Regions from separate parts of the Homo sapiens genome. Here regions 1 and 2 are each linked to region 3. The links are contacts of gene promoters, found by promoter capture Hi-C in human tissues and cell types (Jung and others, 2019). All regions are on one chromosome and are shown on one strand. The core of a region is centred on a gene start or on the middle of the fragment in contact, and the rest is flanking DNA. Distances in the headings are between cores, read along the strand shown.

Region 1 (4,284 bases), core at 33-2,532, 330 kb after region 3:
TACACTCTCTGGCTTGAAGTGTGTGCTAAACTGTCTGCTAAAGAATCAGTGTGTTCCCCTCTTGACTTAAAAGCAGGAAAGGAAATGTTATTTGTAGTGAAAACAAGGAGGCAGGTAGGGGAAAATTCAGATTCTACTGATATTTCTAGTGTGCTTTCCAACCGTGTATCTGCCCCTGAACTATCCCTATATTAGTCATTTGAGTCTTACGCCATGCCTCCGAAGTGTGTGGTATTATTTATTCTTATTGCACAAGTGAAGGGAATAGGGTATAGAGAGGTTAAGTAATTTGCCCCAGGTCACACAGCTCATAAGTAGCAGAGGCTCACACTTAGGTCTGTCTCTGCATGCTGGACCTCAAATTCCTGTTACTGCAAAGCCTGGCTTGAAAGGACAGTTGAAGTAACAGATTGCCCAGGCTCAGTTATTTGTTAATAGAGGACAGAGCTGCTTTGCCTAGATTCCACACATGGAGGATGTCCAGTGCAGTGTTGAGCAGCTTGCCTTCAGCAGGAGCAGACTTTATGCCCAGCCAGAACTGCCTGATTACAACCTGTCCTCACTGCCTGCTCCCTGGCTGCCTTTCTTCCTATGTGAGGTTCCTGCCAGGTCTGAGGATCCCAAAGAGAAGGTAATGAGTTTTTGAGGGGCCATGAGACCCTAGCATTTGGGAGTTCTGGTGAGTGCTTTTTAAAACCCACCTACTGCGAAAAGATTCTGGTCAGTGGGCAGAGAGACACAGCTGGGTGTTAAATGATGGGAGACAGAGGCTTGCAAAAAAGGAGATTCTAATGCTCCAAAAGCAGGCAGGACCCCAACGGAGCACCCCTTCCTCTGGAAGCTATGTAAGGGCTCAGACACACAGAAGGTGCTGCCAGCCAACCAGTGCCACATGTCTGAGACTCAGAGAGATGATTGCAGAGAAAGGAACAGGAAAAAGAAGAAACAAAAACATCCTTTCTGCCAGGTGTGGTGGCAGGCATCAATTTCAAAGGCCTCTTTGTGACTGGATTGAAAAAGCCAGGAGCAGGGAGAAGAATAGATCCAGGTGGCAGGCCTATAATCCCAGCACTTTGGGAAGCCAAGGTGGGTGGATCACCTGAGGTCAGGAGTTCGAGACCAGCCTGACCAACATGGTGAAATGCTGTCTCTCCTGAGAAATACAAAAAAAATAGCCAGCGTGGTGGTGGGTGCCTGTAATCCCAGCTACTCGGAAGGCTGAGGCAGGAGAATCCCTTGAACCCAGGAGGCAGAGGTTGCAGTGAGCCAAGATTGCGCCATTGCACTCTAGCCAGTGCTACAAGAGCAAAACTCCGTCTCAAAAAAAAAAAAAAAATCCTTTCTATCCAGGACCAAAGGGAAGTTTAAACCCTATGAAATATTGCTGCTTTGTTGTTTACTTTGCCAAATTCTTAAGAAGTTGCACACAAAGAAAGCAGGACATTTGGAAATAAAGAAAGAGAAACCTCATACTGACAAGCTCAGGCACTGAAAGATTCTGAAGACCAAAGTGGGCTTTATAGTGTGCAGGAAGAGTTTGCTGATTGAAAGGAAGACTCTTCACACACAAAGAAGTAAGAGAAATTGAAGCCAGACAGAAGAGCACATATTCCAAGGGCACTGAGGAGAGAGGGCAGATGATCACACTTCCAGTAATGGCCACCGTGGTCCCAGCTGGCCGACTGTGCTGCCAGAGGGCTAGGCTCCATTTTGGAGTAATGGGAAGACCTGGATCTATTCTTCTCCCTGCTCTTGGCTTCCTCAATCCAGTCACACAGAGGCCTTTGAAATTGATGGGCACTTCTGGCCAGCAGGACACAGGGCGGAGCAGTAAATAGGTGTTCTCAAATTCATTTGGATCACACAGTTGAAGAGCTCTCTGGAGAAACAAAAAAAGATGCAAAACATTAAATAAGCTTGAAGACTGATAAGGAAAATAAAGACAATGGTGCTAAAATGGCCTCAAAGTCTCAGTAGCCACAGCCAGATCATATTTTCCAAGCTTCACTTAGAGGCGAGGTTTAATCACAACAGTCTGTTTGTAAAGGCATGCATAACCATTTAGTTGAGATTCTGGTCTTTTTTATGTTTTTTCTTAACATGCTACATTACCCCAAGCTTCTTTGTTACTTGATTCTTAACACCACTTGTGACAGTTGCTCCTGATCTCTTAGATTTTTGTCTTTCAAGGCCTTTGTTTCCCAGGGTGCACTTCAGCCAACACAACCAAGGGAAGAAGAAAATGGGCAAAAGTGTGCATGAGGTGGTAGGGGCCAGACTGTGCTTGTGCCCACAGAAACACCAAGCTTCTCCCAGCAAAAGCCCCAGAACTGAAGTCTGCAAAAGGGAAGAGGCAAATTAGTAATCATTCTGTGCTACAGAGCAGCCACGTCTGAGCATTACCTAATGCTTTTCTCAATTGTTTTGACACATGTAGTTTTGTTTTAAATATGTATGGTAATTTTTAATAAAATGCTGATAAGTGTGCCAAGCCATTCTCTGTGGAAATAATGAAGTCTTTACAGTTTGGAATGCTATTAAGTCTTTGCTTCACGGTTTGTGAGGCTGCTAGCATTTTAAGCAGCAATAACATTTTATTGAGGCCCAGTCTTGCTGAGGGGGATGGTCAGCTCTAGAAGGGGCAGTTTTTCCATCACACCTTAGAGTGACCTGGTTTGGGGCTACACATAGATGGAGGTGGAGCTACTTAGTGGTACCCTTCTTAGCCCTGCCTGGCTTAGCTACTACCTCTCCAAAATTCACTGTCCATCATCAGTACAGTGCAGTAGAAAAAAAAATATGGGCAAACCTGGGTTTGAATCTCAAGCCTACCATTTTCAGGTAGTATAACCATGGGAAAAATCACATAAACTTTTTGAATCTCCATTCCTGTTCCAGTTATCAGTATATAACAAACCACCCCAAACTTACTGGTGTAAATTGACCATTCTGTTATGCTCATAGATTCAGTGGGTCAGGAATTTCACCAGAGCACAACTGGGTGGCTTGTCCCTGCTCCATGATACCTGGGGACTCAGCTGAGAAGTCTTGAAGACTGTGACCGAGTGGAGTCCCTGCAGTCATCCAGGGACTCTTCATTCATGTGTCTGGCAGTTGGTGCTGGGTGTTGGACATTGACTACAGCACATGCATGTGGCCACACTGTGGGGTCTTTCTGAGTAGGCTAGTTTGGGCGTTTTTTAGAACCCATTCATGGCAGCTGGGTTCTAAAACCAAGTGCCCCAAGACCATAAGATGTAAGTGCATGGCATTTTTATGACCTAACCTCAGAAGTCACAAAGTATCACTTCTGCCATTGAGTAAAGCAGTCACAAATACCTACCCCAGCCCCCTAGGAGGAACACAGACTTCACCTCTCAATGGAAGAGTGGCCAGGTTCTAGAAGAGCATGTAAACCAGGAGATGAGATGATCCTGTGGCCATGTTTTGAAAAGACCATCTGTCACAATTCTCTCCTCTAGTGAGCCTACCAGGCCAGAGAATGGAGGGAGTGATGATTGCCAAGCACAAGCTAAGTGCCATGAGCTGTTCATCTGTTATCTAATTCTATTTATTTAAGTCTTAAAATAGTATCCACACTTTTTTGTTTGTTTTCAGATAAGACATTATATTGGTCAGCTTCAGCTGCATAAAAACTACAAATTATCAACGGCATACAAGAATAAGCAGTTTATTTCTTGATCACAGATCTTGAGTCAGCTGAGACAGATGTGTTCCTCCTCTCCTATTCTGAGGTTTAAGAGAGTTAGCAGAGGAAGTGGCTGCCTTATGTATTCTTCTCATGTAGATAGCACAGGCAGAGGATTGCAAGCCCCACCAAGCAAGCAAGCTTTAAGTTTCTGTTTATGTCCCATCTGCTACTATCCCATTGGTCAAAGCAAGTCTCATAGCCAATTCCAAAGTCAAGGGGCAGGGAAATACATTCTGGCCTTTGTGAGGCTGTGGCAGAGATGTGGGTGTATAATACTATAATGGCAGAGTGAGGAATTGGGAGCAATAATTCAATCTACCATAGCTATTTTCTAGCACAAAGAAAATTGAATAAGGATATTGTGGCGTTACAGCTAGTGTTTAACAATATAATCTTAGGTGCAAAATACCCATATAAAGTAGTAGGTTATCAAATTGCTAATAAAAGAATAATTCAACAAGACCAGGTAGCATTTATCCTAGGTATTCAAGGACAATATACCATAAAGATATCTATTAATATACCACATTACTAAGACAATATATTTTTATGAAACTTAAATCATCATCTCA
Region 2 (3,996 bases), core at 1,180-3,679, 290 kb before region 3:
ACTTCCCATGTGTTGTGGGAGGGACCCAGTGGGAGGTGATTGAATTATGGGGGCGGGTCTTTCCTGCTCTGTTCTCATGATAGTTAATGAGTCTCATGAGATCTGATGGTTTTAAAAACAGGAGTTCCCCTGCACAAACTCTCTCTGCCTGCAGCCATCCATGTAAGACATGACTTGCTCCTCCTTGCCTTCCGCCATGATTGTGAGGCCCCCAGCCACGTGGAACTGTAAGTTGAATTAAACCTCTTTCTTTTGTAAATTGCCCAGTCTCTGGTATATCTTTATCAGCAGCATGAAAATGAACTAATACAGTAAGTTGGTACTACAAGAGTGGGGTGCTGCTGAAAAGATACCCAAAAATGTGCAAGCAACTTTGGAACTGGGTAACATGCAGAGGTTGAAACAGTTTTCAGGGCTCAGAAGAAGACAGGAAAATGTGGGAAAGTTTGGAACTTCCTAGAGACTTGTTGATGGCTTTGCCCAAAATGTTAATAGTGATATGGAATATAAAGTCCAGGCTGAGGTGGTCTCAGATGGAGATGAGGAGCTTTTAGGGAACTAGAGCAAAGGTGACTCTTGTTATGTTTTAGCAAAGAGACTGGTGTCATTTTGCCCCTGCCCTAGAGACTTGTGGAACTTGAACTGGAGAGAGATGATTTAGGGTATCTGGCAGAAGAAATTTCTAAGCAGCAAAGCATTCAAGATGTGACTTGGGTGCTGTTAAAGGCATTCAGTTTTATAAAGGAAGGAAAGCCTAAAAGTTCAGAAAATTTGCAGCCTGACAATGAGATAGAGAAGAACATCCCATTTTTTGAGGAGAAATTCAAGCCAGCTGCAGAAATTTGCATAAGTAACGAGGAGACAAATGTTAATCCCCAAGACAAGGGGGGAAATGTCTCCAGGGCATGTCAGAGACATTTGTGGCAGCCCCTCCCATCACCAGCCTGGAGGTTTAGGAGGAAAACATGGTTTTGTGGGCCAGGCCCAGGGTACCTATGCTGTGCACAGTCTAGGGACTTGGTGTCCTGTGTCCCAGCCACTCCAGCTGTGACTAAAAGGGGCCAAGGTACAGCTCAGCCTGTTACTTCAGAGGGTGGAAGCCCCAAGCCTTGGCAGCTTCCAGGTGGTGTTGAGCCTGCAAGTGCACAGAAGTCAAGAATGAGGGTTTGGTAACCTCAACCTAGACTTTAGAAGATGCATGGAAACACCTGGATGCCCAGACAGAAGTTTGCACAGGGTTGGGGTCCTTGTTGAGAACCTTTGCTAGGGCAATGCAGAAGAGAAATGTGGGTTCTAAGCCCCCATACAGAGTCCCTCCTGGGGCACTCCCTAGTGGAGCTGTGAGAAGACGGCCACTATCCTCCCAACCCCACAATGGTAGATCCACTGAGAGCTTGCACTGTGCACCTGGAAAAGCCACCAACACTCAATGCCAGCCCATGAGGACAGCCGGGAGGGAAGCTGTACCCTGTGAAGCCACAGTAATGTAGCTTTTCAAGACCATAGAAACCAACTTCTTGCATCAGCTTGACCTGGATGTGAGACATGGAGTCCAAGGAGTTCATTTCAGAGTTTTAAGATTTGACTGCCCTGCTGGATTGCAGACTTGCATGGAGCCTGTAGCCCCTTTGTTTTGGCCAATTTCTCCCATTTGGATTGGCTGTATTTACCCAATGCCAGTACTCCCATTGTATCTAGGAAGTAACTAACTTGCTTTTGATTTTACAGGTTCATAGGTGGAAGGGTCTTGCCTTGCCTTGAATGAGACTTTGGACTGTGGACTTTTGAGTTAACGCTGAAATGAGTTAAGAATTTGGGGGACTGTTGGGAAGGCATGATTGGTTTTGAAATGTGAGGACATGAGATTTGGGAGGGACCAGGAGTAGAATAATATGGTTTGGTTGTGTCCCCACCCAAATCTCATCTTGAATTCCCAAGTATCATGAGAGGGACCTGGTGGGAGGTGATTGAATTATGGGGGCGGGTCTTTCCTGCACTGTTCTCATGATAGTGAAAGAGTCTCACAAAATCTGATGGTTTTAAAAATGGGAGTTTTTTTTTGCACAAACTCTCCCTTTGCTGCCATCCATATAAGACACGACTTGCTCCTCGTTGACTTCTGCCTTGATTGGGGGGCTTCCCCAGCCACATGGAACTGTAAGTCCTGTCTTTCTTTTGTAAGTTGCTCAGCCTTGGGTATGTCTTTATCAGCAGCATGAAAATGGACTAATACACCAGCACTGCATAGTTTAGGTCCTGTTCCATTATCTAGTCTCTCTTAGGCAATTATTCACATTTCTAACATCTTTTTTCCAACATTTTATTATAAAAAATTTCAAATATGGAGAAAAATTAAAAGAATTCTATAATGAATACCCATATACCACTTTATCCCATATCTATCCATCTATCTAGCTGTCGATCCACCTTATTTTCCAACATTTTCAAATTAAGCTTTTTATTTTGAATGTAATTATAGATTTAAACACAGTTGTATAAAATAATACAGAGAAATCCTATGTGTCTTTTACTCAGCTTTTCCCAGTGATAACATCTTGCAAAGCTATAGCACAATATCACAACCAGGACATTGACATTGATACAGTCAAGATGCAGAACAGTTCATCACCACCAGGACCTCTCATGTTACCCTTCTATAGCCACATCTACTTCCCTCCCATCCCCACCCTGTCTTTAATCTCTGGCACCACTAAATGTTCTCCATTTCTGTGGTTATTTTAAGAATGTTATATAAATGGAATCATGCAGCATGTATGTAGGCTTTTGGGATTGGCTTTTTTCTCTCAGTGTAATTCTCTAGGGATTCACCCAGGTGGTTGTATATATCAACAGTTAATTCCCAAGGTGTTTTCCAAGGCATTTTCACACCCTAGGAAAGCTATTCATAAGCTTGTGTTGGTATCACCCAATAAAATCCCCAGCAATATTATAGAAGAAAACATATTCTTTTAGAGTCCTTTTTTTTTTAAAAAAAATCAACTTATGGAGATTTTGACACTTGGTCATTATTGGCCAAAAACAGTTTGAAAAGTTTCCAGTGTGATTTTCATTTGTGTGAGTTTGAGAAGGGCATGAAAATGTCAGTGTCAAGGCCGGGTGCAGTGGCTCATGCCTGTAATCCCAGCACTTTGGGAGGCCGAGGTGGTAGATGATGAGGTCAGGAGATTGAGTACATCCTTGCCAACATGGTGAAACCCCATCTCTACTAAGAATATAAAAATTAGCTGGGCATGGCAGCACACACCTGTAGTCCCAGCTACTCTGGAGGCTGAGGCAGAAGAATCACTTGAACCCGGGAGGCGGAGGTTGCAGTGAGCCGATATCGCGCCACTGTACTCCAGCCTGGGCGACAAGAGCAAAACTCCATCTCAAAACAAACAAACAAACAAACAAACAAAAATGTCAGTGCCCGTATTCATCTTGCATAAAATATTTGAACTTTATGCTGCACTAAAACAATAAATTGTCTCTGTAATAAGACATGGGCAATTAAACAAGCAAGAGAAACAATTCGTGTAGCTCAAGTCAGATGGAAACAGTGCAACTGAAGTAATGTAATCACACTCCAGGAGCCAGATAATGGGATGTGTGCCCAGGAAAGGTGGCTGGTGTCTCTCTCACCATCACCTGGAAAGGCAGACCAACCAGAAGGACAGGAGTCCTTCTTTACAGGGATAGCAGGGCCCTTCCCATAAAGCAGCAGGTGGGGGAAGGGTGGAGAGTCTGCCCAGATAGCTCTGTGATTGGTGTGAGCCTATGCTCCGAGCTGGGAGGCTGCTGACCCAGATGGCTGGAACTGATGCTCCATTGTGAGTTGTTACTGAATTCACACATAGTGCAACCTGGATGGGCCCAGCATAGACATGTTGGAGGGCTGGCTGGCGCACTTGCTGGTGGAGCAGGGAAAGCCCTTTTCTATGGCTGCCCTTCCTTGGGTTGCTTGGCTTAGGCACAGACCACCTGGTATTTCTTCTT
Region 3 (4,362 bases), core at 901-3,400:
TTATCTCTCTCCTTCTCTTTCTCGCTTACCTCTATGAAGCTTCCCATTCTGACCTGAGAACTCAGCCGTGCATTATTACTACTCACACCAGATCCTCTTCCCAAATGATTTCTTCCCTGTTCTGCACTTGCTGTGTGCTTCTCACCCTCCTTCAAACTCCCGTTTGCAGACATCTGCTTATATCAATTACTGTGCTACAAAGTGATGGGAAATCTCCTCCCCCCCACCCCCCAAAAAAGTAATTTGCCTGTTTAACAAAGTGTCTATATTGGGAAAGCAGGGGGGAGATGTTTGGAAGTTCATTGTTTTTTATTCTTGTCTTCACCAAAACAACAGTCTCTCAGCTTGATCCCTTCATATCAGCCACTTCTTTACCGCACTCTGAGATATTTTCATAACGAGTTTTTCTCTCATGAAATTTCTCATTTCTAAAAATAGAAACTGCCTGTCAAAGATACACCAAGAAAAAAAATGCTGAAAAGAAACAGAATGCCTGCTTATAAAATATTTTCAAAACGATGACACCAAAAAATTTAAAAATTACAGATAAACATAATCTCCCATGTTCTTCTCAAATATATCACTCCTAAGTTATTGGAGGGCCAGTTTCTAAAGCCCAGACAAGGCGAACTGCCTGCCTCCAGCTCTCCCCAACCTCCAAGAGTAATGCAGCCTGATAGGCATTTCCTCCCCTAAGCTAGTGGTCAAGTGTAGCTCAAAGCAAGCGTCCGAATCAGGCTGTCTCTAACAGGGAATCTATTTTCTGACAGGCGCAAACCCCTCCGCCCTCTGATGATTGCCAGGCAGGATTTGGGGACCAAGTACCCCTCATTGTCACCTGGCGGATTTGGCCACAGTCCACAAACCAAACGCAAGCCCTACTTATGAACAGCGCAGAGAATCAACAAGTTATCACTAAGCTGTGCGCCCCAGCTAGGATCTGCCACAGCCTCCCCTGAGCCCACCACTGTTCCCCACCAGCTCTGCTCTTCCCTCGCCTCCCCACCCCCTGCAAGCACGTGACCTCCTGTTTCAGACCCGGCCCCCCACCCCAGAGCTCCCGACGCTCCCAGGCAGCTGTCAAAGTCCGGGGTTCGCCGGCTTCCAGGCTCGCCTGACAGAGCCAGGCGTTCGCTTGGATCTAGCTTCCTTCCGGGCGGGAGGCGCGGGGAGGTCAAGCTCTTCAAAGGAACAGGGTGGGCAGGGGAGTGGTGCCAGGTTAGGCTCCTCGGTCCTCGGTAGTCAGAGCGGAGTAGGAAAGGCAGCGGGGAGCCTCACATCCCGCGCTTCTTCCGGACCCCGCCGCCTACCCGGAGGGTACACGTTCCCCGGGGAGTCAGAGACGCCCTGGGGGAGCTTGAGGAGTGTCAGCGGGGCCTTCCCTGGAGCCTACAAGTTTCCACTCCATCCCCGAGCTGGGAGACAAGTCACAGCTCGGCTCCCTCCTTGAAAGCACCGCCGCTGATCCTTCCCCCAGGCAGGAGCAGACACCTGCTTGTCCCCACGGCGCGCCAGCGCCCTGCTCTAGCCGTCCCTGGGCCAGAGCTCGAAACTCACCCACTGCGCTCCCACCCCGGCACAGACAGCCCTCAAAGTTGTCCGTACTCCCCAGACCTCGCCTTCTGCTCAGCCCCCGGACCCCGCCCAGGGGTTGAGTTGACGTCCGCGGGTGGACCTCTCTGGTCCGCTGCGCAGGGAACTGACTTCGGGAATCCAGGGCGCACAGAGGCCAAAGAAGCTGCGGCAAGGGAGGGTGGGCAAATCCAGCTTGAGCCTAGGTCCTTGCCGCTTTCACCCTCAAGCCTGCCCTGCCTCCCTCCTGGGAGAAGAGCAAACTTCCCCAGCACCCACCTTTAGCCGCGAGGAGGCGGCGCTGCCGGCTGTCCCCGCCACCGCCGCTGCCGCTCCCCACGCCCAGCGCCAGCAGGAGCGGCACCCAGCACAGCCGCCCAGGCAGCATCCTCGCAGCAGCCGCCAACGAGCTGCAGCCGCCGCCTACTGTCCGCGCCGGCTCTCGCCTCCCGGTGCCTGCCGCACCGTGGGCCGCCTCGCCGTGCCCGATGGGTGCGCTTCTAGCGCTGCCGCCGCGGCGCTCGGCCTCGGGTTCCCGCCGCTGCGCCGCTAGCTCGCCGGCAGCAGCCGCGCTCACTGGCGCGGACCCGGAGCGGCTCAGGCGCTCACCCCGGGACGGCCCGTGACGTCACGGAGGGAGGGAGGTGGCTCGTGCATATTCATGAACGCGGGCATCGGCGCCGGGTTCCGCGCTCCCCGCCCCAAGGCCCCGACCCCCAACTTTCCTCAGCCGTCTCCACGCTCCGGGGCCCTGTCCAGGTCCCCCTGCCCAGTCGGGACCGGGCCCCCAGAGGACCCTGGTGGGCGGCTCCGGAGAGCCCTCCAGCCCCGCGCCTCCACTCCGACTCTCGGAAAAGCTGCCGCAAGGGATGGAGGGCTCCCCCAGAAAGTGGCCACCCGAGGCCTGAGGGTCATCTGGGGTGGCGCGAGGGACCCTGACCTGCCATGCCCTTTGAACTGATATCTGGGCGGAGAGGACTGACGGGCGTCGCTAAGGGTCTTGCCCTTGGCTGGGTCTCTGGGCGTTCTGCGTCGACTGGTCTGGGGAGGGCGCCAGGCGCACACTAGAGCAGCGCCTAGTGGTGCTAGGGGTTGTCGGGCAGAGTAGATAGCCTTGGACCTGGATGGCAATGGCAGGGCTCCGCGTCATCTCCGAGAAGCAGGGGCAGCCGCGGCTCTTAGAGGCTGATAGAACAGCTAGATCAGAAAACTTGGGGTGCTGGGCCTGCTGAGGCTGCAGTGGCGGGGGCGGGGTGTCAAACTTAAAATTCCCTGCGGTATGGTGCCATGCAAGAAGTTGCCACCTTTATGTTGTCACTCCGCATCTCTAAGAACAGGCTACTTGACGTCATGCATTGTAAAATCTCGTGCCGTTGAGTATTGTCAGTTCCCTGAGTGCAGGAGCCAGTGCATATCTTTGCATCCTCAACCATCTCTAGGCCGTGAAAAAATTACAAAGGTACTCAAAAAAAAAAAAAAAAAAAACAGTAAGGACTCAGAATAAATCCTTGACCATATTTACCTAAATGAAATGCCAACATCACACACAATGCAGGGTTTATGAGGAATAGTTTGGAAATAAAGTAGATATGGAAATACAGAAACAAACAATATTATTTATTTAGTCATTGATTCAAGACGTTTGCTGAGCATCTAGACAGGCTGTATCACCCTGACAGTGAGCACTGGATTAGTCGTTGGAGATCCAAAGACAGAGGAGAGAGTGGGTCCTATCCTCAAAGCTTTTGTTCCCTGCTTGGGGAGCCAGAGAGGGCAGCAAAGGCAATTACAATCCCTTGTAAGTGTTATGGTCCTGCACATTCTTTATGTTGCTAGCTATGAGCCTATACAAATCAATTAACAAAATGTATATATTGCAAGAGTGCCTAAACAGCATCCTCTAATTAATAACTGTAGTTTGAGGTACTCAACAAAGCCATAAAATCCATTAACAGCACTCCTGCAGCTCAGCCTCCCTCTGCTGCCCTGGCAGCTCACTCAGAGCCTCTGCAGTGGTGAAAGCCAACTCTTCAGGATTTCAGGCACCAGGATGTGCTTGGGGACAGCAGTGAATCATGGTGGCTGCATGGGGCTCAGACCCATGTGGGGCTCTTTACCTTCAGGTCTCCTTTAGCCCACAAATCAACATGTGCGCTATTATTCTCATTTCACACATGATGAAATAGAGGCTCAGGGAAGTTAGGTAACTTCCTTGTTCAGGGTCAAAAATCTAGTAAATGTCCCAGGCCGACACCAGGACCTTGCCTTTGTCAGATGTTGGTTTCAGAATCTAGAAAAGATGGCATGGAAAGGTGGTAGCTGACCCAGGGAAAATAAAAAAGCCAGAAAATAGAAGAGAAATGTAAATTTGTCTCATTTTCTTCCATTTATGCTCCACCCAACTACATATCTGCCCTCCTCCCTTCATTTTCTCTAATAAGTAGACCTATCTTACTGACTTACCTGCACTGTTCTTTGATGTCATTATACTGGGCTTTGTTAAGATCACTGATTGGTCCTAATAATTTTATGTGAAGTTTCAAATTCAGACCAAATAATGAGAAACAGGGGGAAATGTAGCTTATTAGGAAGCATCTCCATGGAGAGATAGCCAGGAAAGAACACAGCAAAGAAAAACACTAGGGGGTGGGCCAGTTACCAACAGGCACAAAATTGCTAGCCTCCATCTCCTCCTCTACCAATGAGGGTAATAACAATGCCTATTGTGGTAGATCAAGTGCACTAATGGCCATTTGTCCATGCTTCTCTGAATCTGTTTCCTTTGGATGT

Evidence for each region. The method cuts DNA at HindIII sites, captures the fragments that hold promoters and counts their contacts. A contact is called where the count stands out against the background at its distance.
Region 1: a contact is called between a fragment that was not itself captured here and the fragment with the promoter of CLSTN2 in region 3, in 2 of the 25 tissues and cell types used here (H1 embryonic stem cells and heart left ventricle).
Region 2: a contact is called between a fragment that was not itself captured here and the fragment with the promoter of CLSTN2 in region 3, in 1 of the 25 tissues and cell types used here (dorsolateral prefrontal cortex).

The regions. Positions count from the first base shown.
Region 1 is chr3:139,597,359-139,601,642 of GRCh38, reverse strand. The region is part of intron 4 of NMNAT3 (nicotinamide nucleotide adenylyltransferase 3); the gene reads left to right. Among named protein-coding and RNA genes, the nearest start is that of RBP1, 60 kb to the right of the region's middle. The HindIII fragment of the contact is 3,592 bases long and covers 1-3,078 here.
Region 2 is chr3:140,224,910-140,228,905 of GRCh38, reverse strand. All of the region lies in intron 2 of CLSTN2 (calsyntenin 2), which reads right to left. It overlaps LOC124909440 (a long non-coding RNA gene), which reads right to left and starts at 3,303. Exons shown (of 2, transcript XR_007096118.1): 1 at 3,266-3,303. The HindIII fragment of the contact is 3,889 bases long and covers 485-3,996 here.
Region 3 is chr3:139,932,973-139,937,334 of GRCh38, reverse strand. CLSTN2 (calsyntenin 2) reads right to left here and starts at 2,150. Exons shown (of 17, transcript NM_022131.3): 1 at 1,852-2,150. The coding sequence starts at 1,960. RefSeq lists silencers at 2,003-2,062, 2,103-2,152. The HindIII fragment of the contact is 4,702 bases long and covers 1-4,261 here.